Regions from separate parts of the Homo sapiens genome. Here regions 1 and 3 are each linked to region 2. The links are contacts of gene promoters, found by promoter capture Hi-C in blood cells and fetal thymus (Javierre and others, 2016). All regions are on one chromosome and are shown on one strand. The core of a region is centred on a gene start or on the middle of the fragment in contact, and the rest is flanking DNA. Distances in the headings are between cores, read along the strand shown. Region 1 overlaps TBK1 (TANK binding kinase 1). Region 2 holds the start of GNS (glucosamine (N-acetyl)-6-sulfatase). Region 3 overlaps XPOT (exportin for tRNA).

Region 1 (2,700 bases), core at 201-2,700, 270 kb after region 2:
CCTAGGGCAGGGCTGTTTAGGCGGAGATGGAGAGTGAATACTAATGGATGCAGAGATACTTTCTGGGGTGATGAAAATGTTCTAAAATTAGTGATGATGGCTGCACAACTCTGAACATAATAAAAACCATTAAACTGTATGCTTAAATGCATGAGTTATATAGTATATGAATTATATCTCAATGTTGTGAAGGCTGGGTGTGGCTCATGCCTATAATCCCAGCTGAGGCGGGCTGATTGCCTGAGCCCAAGAGTTTGAGACCAGCCTGGGCAACATAACTAGACCCCCCATCACTAAAAAAAAAAAAATTAGCTGGGTGTGGTGGGGCATGCCTATAGTCCCAGGTACTTGGGAAGGTGAGGTGGTAGGATCACTTGAGGCCAGGAGTTTCAGGCTGCAGTGATCTGTGATTGTGCCACTGCACTCCAGCCTGGGTGACAGCGAGACCCTGTCTCAAAAAGAAAAAAAAAAAATACGGTGTGATAAAAAAGGACTGTGTACTTCATTTGGGAAAATGGTAGGAAATTAAGGAAGACTTTGAGGACTTAAATGCTAGAAAGTACAGATTGTACTGAATTCTAACAAGCCAAAGACTTCTAACATAGTTAAATGACAACCAACTACTCAAGGTCCTAGGAAAAGAAATGCATTTGCCGTCACATCCTATAGCGTGGTGTAAGTTTTAAAATTCAGATACTATTTGTTCTGTCTCACAAGGTCATTGTAGGACTCATGAAAAATGAGCTGCTAAATGTTTTATAAACTAAATGTGAAACAAATGTATTATAATAAAAATCAAGCACCTAACCTAACTAGTTTGAAGAGAGAAAATATCAATGATGGGGCAAGGTCTACATGAAAATCAATTTCAAAATTTCAATCTATTACTTACATCAGCCATCGTATCCCCTTTCGCATTAATTCCTGATAAAGCAGTAAGGTACTGGCAATTCTGCAGGCATAACACACAACCCCTGTTATTGCCTAATAAAGAAATAAAATGTCAATATTTGGTGCTAATTGTGGTATAGGGTAAGAAAAACTTTTACACAAAATTATTCAAGCTTACACATTTTTATCAGGTTAATTAAAAACACAATAAACCACCAATTTCTAAGAGTTAAAAATAGATATAAATATAATAAATATGTTATCCTTAACATTATCTAAACATGCACTATCTCAATGGAGAGAATTTTCTTATATAATGAATTCAAGAAAGGATAAAAAGTAAAAAAGAAAGACCACAAAATCACTTGGAAAGGGTATCAATTTAAGTGAATAATTTCCTAAGTCATATAGACATACATGAAGACACAATACATGTTATTGCTTCCACTATTGATAGGATACATTAAATTCAGATGTTTACATAGTAATTAAATTAAATACTAACCTTAGCCATGCTAGCATCCCCGTCTAAATCATAACGTGGATGTACTTTAGGGAGGGAAACTGAAATATGAAGTAAAATAAAATGAGAAAGAAAACTTTTTGAAAAAATCACTTTATCCTTTATAGAGCAAACACAATGTCTAAATTAAACATTAGTGGCAAAATCTGTAATGTAGTTTTCGTGATTAAAAAAACACCACTTCAAACAATAATGCTCATTCTCTAACAAATTACCTCAAATATTTCTAAGGAGTTTCATTTTTTCCTTAAATATACACCAACACAATGAGTCCAATGCTTCTCTTTAAATCTACATCAAATCCCAACCTTCAAATAGAACTGTAAAATTCTGGGTGATCCATTTTTTTTTCTACCAGTAGAATGAGTAATTTAAAAGATTCTAAAAATGCAGATCTAATTTTTCTTAGACTCTAAAGCTTGGCACAATGTTCTATACATACTGCACACAAAAAATATTTGCTGAAATTTATGATATAAAAGGTAATTTTGAGTGTTAGCAAAACACTTTTTAAAGAGAGTTACAGTGAAACGTATGACAAACGATTTTATCGTTTTAGGAAACAAAATATTTGAAGTCAAATCATGTCTACAAGGCTTTTTCAATTTTACAATTACTCTCTTTCAACTATAGTAATTTATAAAATTTTAATATTTATGAAAGCTCTACACTAATATTATCATCAGCTTTATAAGGATGACAATCATTTCTACAATGACAGACTTTGTGGATTTTTTTGTTTTTGAGACAGGGTCCCACACTGTCTCCCAGGCTGGAGTGCAGTGGTGCAATCTCGGCTTACTGCAACCTCTGCCTCTTGGGCTCAAGTGATCCTCCTACCTCAGCCTCCCATGCAGCTGGGACTACAGGTGCAAGCCACCATGCCCCACTAATTTTTGTTTTATTTTTTTGTAGAGACAAGGTCTCACTATGTTGCCCAGGCTGGCTGTATTTTTCTAATGGCTAGTAAGAACGACAAGAAAAATCCCAACTTACTTTTTTCATATATTAATCCTATGGTATTCAGAGGTTCCCGGCTTACTACAAATATAGGGTTTTCCTCAGTAGTTTTAGGGAAATGTTGTGCCAGCCTTCCAGGTTCTAAGACTAAGCGTCGCCCTTCGTAGATAAGTTCTTGATTTGAAGAAATAATTTTGGTTTGTTTATATACCAGTTCATGAAATATAGTAGCACTGTGTGAGAAAAATTCAAAAGGACACTATAACTGGGGATAAAGTGAGAGGCAAAATATTTTAAATGAGTGCAACAACATCCATTTCTAATTC
Region 2 (2,700 bases), core at 136-2,635:
TTTCCATCATTATTTTTACCTTATAGTATAGTGTTTTCACGAGTTTTTTTTTTTAATACTTTAAGTTCTGGAATAGTTTTCACGAGTTTTAAGAGACTCTTCTTGGCAAACAGTTCAACTCAGAGAAAATACTTTTACCAGCAAGGAGGTATACCTTGTTATATCGGTCTGGGGATGTGACTTGACAGTTCACCTTGCCAGGAATATCTCTGTGATTTTTTGTTTGTTTGTTTGTTTTGAGACAAGAGTCTCGCTCTGTCCCTGAGGCCAGAGTGCAGTGGCTCACTGCAAGCTCCGCCTCCCGGGTTCAAGCGATTCTCATGCCTCAGCCTCCCGAGTAGCTGGGATTACAGGCGCCTGCCACCACGCCCAGCTAATTTTTGTATTTTAGTAGAGACGGGGTTTCCCCACGTTGGCCAGGCTGGTCTAAAACTCCTGACCTCAGGTGATCCACCCGCCTCCCAAAGTGCTGGGATTACAAGCGTGAGCCACCGCGCCCACGGTGGGCGGTGAGAGGAGAGGGGCAAAGTCTAATTATTCCAGAGCGACCACAGAAATATCTGGAGCTAGTTTCAAGGGCTATTCCCCGCTAAAGATTACTTAATAATGCAGTTGGATGACCACGTTTCAAGATTTTTGTTCGATCTGCACATCCTCCAACATGTTCCAAGAGGGTGTTTAAAAAGTCACCAAGGACCATTAGGATAACCATTAGGATAAAGCTGTCAGGACATCCCTAAATTGTTTGAAACTACGATGTCTGCTGAGGAAAGAAGAACATAATTAGGCTTTGGAGTTAAGAGAGCTAACCAGTTCCGAATTTAATGTCTGAGCCAAATGAGAATGTTAAGATTTATCTCACAAGTTGTAGAGAAAATTAAAAACGATTAAACATCCGGGCCTTGAATAAGTGCCCGTCGACTTGGGGATTAAATATGGTAGAGTCCACTTTCCTCACCAGCTGATGATAATTTCTGTTATGTACAGTCCTCCTTTCTCTTCCTTTATCGGTTGGTTAGTATTTGCCAACTCTTTCCTGCTTTTCATCTTCTCTTCCCCCCATTTAAATCTTTCCACCAAGCGCTCAGAAACACGTACGTCCTACCAGAACGCAACCCGAGCCTGCGCGAGAGGTACGTACAGGTCTTGACCTTTTCCCGGTTCTCCGCCCTTTTCCCGGTTCTCCGCCCTTTTCTCCGGTTCTCCGCCCTTTTCTCCGGTTCTCCGCCCTTTTCTCCGGTTCTCCGCCCCTTTTCCGCCACTGCCTGATGCCTCCCTCCAGGCTGCGCCAGTCCGCAGCCCCGCCCACGCCGGCCGTCACGTGACCGCGCAGCGTGCTCCGCCCCCTGTCCCTGGCTCACGTGATCGCGCCTAGGGAGAAAACGTCTGACTCCAGCCACCGGCCTTCAAGGCACGGCTTTTTATTCCTTCGGCTGGTCGGCCTCTCGCCCTTCAGCTACCTGTGCGTCCCTCCGTCCCGTCCCGTCCCGGGGTCACCCCGGAGCCTGTCCGCTATGCGGCTCCTGCCTCTAGCCCCAGGTCGGCTCCGGCGGGGCAGCCCCCGCCACCTGCCCTCCTGCAGCCCAGCGCTGCTACTGCTGGTGCTGGGCGGCTGCCTGGGGGTCTTCGGGGTGGCTGCGGGAACCCGGAGGCCCAACGTGGTGCTGCTCCTCACGGACGACCAGGACGAAGTGCTCGGCGGCATGGTAACTCTTCTGTTTCTGCCCCGCCCCTCTATCTCTTGGGCTGACTACCCGGTTTGTTGCTCTCTTTCCCGGTCCCCACCACCCTCCTCCCCGAACTGGCTGTCTTATCCTTGGGTAGGTTTGGTTTTCCCACCTGAGGCCCTTTATGCCGGTGTAAGGGACTGCAATACTCTTTTCCTTTCTGGATTGAGGCACATGCGTACAGCACACAGAGCTTCTAGTCTGGACCGTACTGCTGTGGAGTTTACGTTAATATCTCAAGATAAACATGTGGAGACCAGTGGAGGATGGGTTGAACCAATGAGGATCAGGTGCTGTCTAAGAGCACTCAAGGCCTGATTGTTTTTCTTTTGGATTAGAGGATCACAGACAAGTCCAGTCCCCTTTATGAGGGACCTAGACCACCTCCACGTTTGTGCCTGTATACAATGTCTGTATCTGATGTCAATAAAAATAAGCCTGGGCCGGGCGCGGTGTGTCACTCATGTAATCCCAGCACTTTGGGAGGCCGAGGCGGGCGGATCAGAAGGTCAAGAGATCGAGACCATCCTGGCCAACATGGTGAAACCCCGTCTCTACTAGAAATACAATAATTCTAGCTGGGCGTGGTGGCGCGCAGCTGTAGTCCCAGCTACTTGGGAGGCTGAGGAAGGAGAATCGCTTGAACCCGGGAGGCAGCAGTTGCAGTGAGCCGAGATCGCGCCACTGCATTCCAGCCTGGCGACAGAGCGAGACTCCGTCTCCAAAAAAAAAAAAAAAAAAAAAAAAAAAAAAAGGCCTGAAGTGAACTAATCTGGTAGGCCGACCGTCGAACTATTGAGGGTGTGTGTTGCCTCACAAGAATCAAGAAAATTCAATTAGTGTGATTGAACACCTGACTGTTGCATTAGAGACTGTCAGTGTTTCATTTTCTATCTAATGGGTGTTGTCACAAGACTTCATTTTTTTTCCAGAGTAAATTTTGCTTGTGTATTGCAGAATTATGGAATGTGTG
Region 3 (2,700 bases), core at 49-2,548, 340 kb after region 2:
ATCCAGAGTACTTACTAGTACACATGGAATGTGCTGAGGTTCAACTGTGAAAAACTTTTCATATCTAACAACAGTTTCGAAGAACTCCAATGTCACAGATGTATGCTGATAGGAACTGACTCCTGATGTTACCAGCTAGATCAGGAAAAAGTTAGGAAACCTCTTCTTATTTATTGCAACATCAAAATGCCCCGGTATTAACATATACTAAGCTCTAACAATTAAGGAACTCCCATTAGCTTATACTGAAAACAGAAATTTATGGTCAAAATTATCTCCAGTATACTTACAGTTCGCATCATATCCTGCAAAGCACTAGCTTTTGAAACATCACCTGAGAAGTGAGCACCATGAGATACTGGAAGAGCTTCTGCCAACATATACAGCAATCTTATTGCTACTTCAACTTCCATAAACCGTGTAGTCTGCCAATTCCTACCAAGGTATAATATGTCAGTGAGATTTAAAGATAAATTTTTCATACAGCAAATTATGCACAGGGTAAGACACCAACAAAAGCCTTTTTAATTATTAAAAAGTCATAGCAACTGTTAACTTTCCCAGGCAATACATCACAAAGGTAGAAAGGATCAAGATAAATCAAGAAGACAAGTGCATTGTTTCCAGAGATACACATAAGATCTCAATAAGTAACATGGATTAATAAGTCATATGAATCATTTATTTTGACCCATATCAAAGAGCAAAAGAAAGAAGTAGGCTTGTTACAAAAGTAATGACAAACTTACTGCAGTGTAGAACTAAAAACTCTGCGAACAGAGGCCAGTAGTAACTCTGGTGAAACTTGAGCAAGCCTGTCCAACAGTAACTTCAGTTGTTTTCTATATTCTACAAACATGGCTTCATCTTCACCCTATGATACAGGTTAAAATCCTCATTCAAAAAACTTATGGGTTGATCGGCGCAGCAAACCACCATGGCTACATGTATACCTATGTAACAAACCTGCACGTTCTGCACATGTACCCCAAAACTTAAAGTATAATAATAAAAATTAAAAACTTAAAAGACCTTAAAATTCATGTAAATATCCAGTTCTCCTGTATTTTTCCGCATTTACATATTTCGTACTTTTATTTTTGTCACTATTTATATAGAAAAACTTATTAAGCTTAATAACTTCTTCCCTCCAGCTCACAAATAAGTATTTCTGCACAAAGCCGTAGACCTCAAAAGCCTAGAGCTAGAAATAGTCTAAGAAGGTTAAAGACAATACTCTAGCACTAGAATGGGCTTTGAATTCTTTGCACCTTATTTATTCTTGTAAGTCAATATCCACTGTAAAAAGTGGTAATAATATGGTATAACTGGAGATATTCAATCTTAGGAGCCTGGCACATCCCAGGTGCGCAGTGTGTTGGTCAGCACCACTATTATCCTTTTACAACCCTAAGTTTTTGAATGTCTGAGGTGGGGGAATACAACACTTTAGAACAAAGCTTAGCAGCAAATACCATGACTGAATACCTAGAAAGCACCAATGGCCCTTGTTTGATGGGAAGCTGACCCACTCACAATCTTGAAAAAGACCTTTAACTGGAACAAGTCTAGAGCGCCTCATTTCCACTCTGCCAATACAGTCTTGTGACTGGAGTTCATCATTCTTACAAAATATAAAGTGAAATATGATCACCAATAATATTATCAATATTTTACTATGTTCAGTGCTACACAGTATTTGTAAAAGGGCTGTTAATGGGACAGGTGCAGTGGCTCACACCTATAATCCCAACACTTTGGGAGGCTGAGGCAGGCAGATCACTTGAGGCCAGGAGTTCAAGACCAACTTGGCCAACACGGCGAAACCCCGTCTCTACTAAAAATACAAGAATTAGCCGGGCATGGTGGCACATGCCTGTAATCCCAGCTACTAAGGTGGCTGAGGCACAAGAATCACTTGAACCCAGGAGGCAGAGGATGCAGTGAGCTGAGATGGCACCACTGCACTCCAGCCTGGGTGACAGAGTGAGACTCTGTCTCAAAGCAAAAAAAAAGGAGGGGGGGTGGTTGTTAATGGATAAAATATCAAAAAGGAAGGATTAAGAGGCTTCTATTAATTTCACCCAAGGTTGGTGTCAATATAAACAGACTAATTTTTCAAGAACTTCATGTTTTAAAGGGCCCCGAAACAATAAGAACTTGAAATATTAATTTGATATAATAATAAAATTAAAACTCCTTTCTCCTCAACAAAAAAAAATTCTTACCTCATTTTCAAAGTTATATTCTTCATCGTAAGTCAATTTTTTCATAACGGCCAACATGATTGCCTAAGAATAAAATTGAGAATAAAAGAGTTTTTGTCAGTCTCCTTCTAATTTGATATAATTTGAAATTAAGCTACATTTCAAGGCAAATTACAGACTAAAAATCTATCATTGGTTTAAAAGAAGCATAAAGTCAATTACCTCTACATTAGCTTTTTGCTGATCCGAGAGCACTGTAAGCTGTTAAAAAGGAAGCAATAACTTATTAGGTTTTCTAAAGTTATACCTGCATATCAGAACATTTTTCGAATCAATTAAGACCTGGTTTTTTTTTTTTTTTTTGAGACAAGGTCTTGCTCTGTTGCCCAGGCTGGAGTGCAGTGGCGCAGTCATGGCTCACTGCAACCCCCAACTCCCTGGCTCAAGAGATCCTCCCACCTCACCCTCCCAAGTTAGCTGGGACCGCAGGCAT

The links. Contacts are between HindIII fragments. The CHiCAGO score rates a contact against its expected background, and 5 or more counts as called.
Region 1: a contact is called between a fragment that was not itself captured here and the fragment with the promoter of GNS in region 2, in 2 of 17 cell types (total CD8 T cells and non-activated CD4 T cells). The highest score is 5.9, in total CD8 T cells.
Region 3: a contact is called between a fragment that was not itself captured here and the fragment with the promoter of GNS in region 2, in 3 of 17 cell types (naive CD4 T cells, non-activated CD4 T cells and total CD8 T cells). The highest score is 8.3, in naive CD4 T cells.

The regions. Positions count from the first base shown.
Region 1 is chr12:64,484,210-64,486,909 of GRCh38, reverse strand. TBK1 (TANK binding kinase 1) reads right to left here. Exons shown (of 21, transcript NM_013254.4): 9 at 2,411-2,607; 10 at 1,397-1,455; 11 at 893-984. Among named protein-coding and RNA genes, the nearest start is that of TBK1, 33 kb to the right of the region's middle. The HindIII fragment of the contact is 768 bases long and covers 1,067-1,834 here.
Region 2 is chr12:64,758,091-64,760,790 of GRCh38, reverse strand. GNS (glucosamine (N-acetyl)-6-sulfatase) reads left to right here and starts at 1,385. Exons shown (of 14, transcript NM_002076.4): 1 at 1,385-1,706. The coding sequence starts at 1,515. It also overlaps a transcript of TBC1D30 not described here. RefSeq lists an enhancer at 1,959-2,700. The HindIII fragment of the contact is 13,978 bases long and covers 1-2,700 here.
Region 3 is chr12:64,422,773-64,425,472 of GRCh38, reverse strand. XPOT (exportin for tRNA) reads right to left here. Exons shown (of 25, transcript NM_007235.6): 10 at 2,430-2,468; 11 at 2,229-2,291; 12 at 750-874; 13 at 291-435; 14 at 16-135. Among named protein-coding and RNA genes, the nearest start is that of XPOT, 20 kb to the right of the region's middle. The HindIII fragment of the contact is 328 bases long and covers 1,135-1,462 here.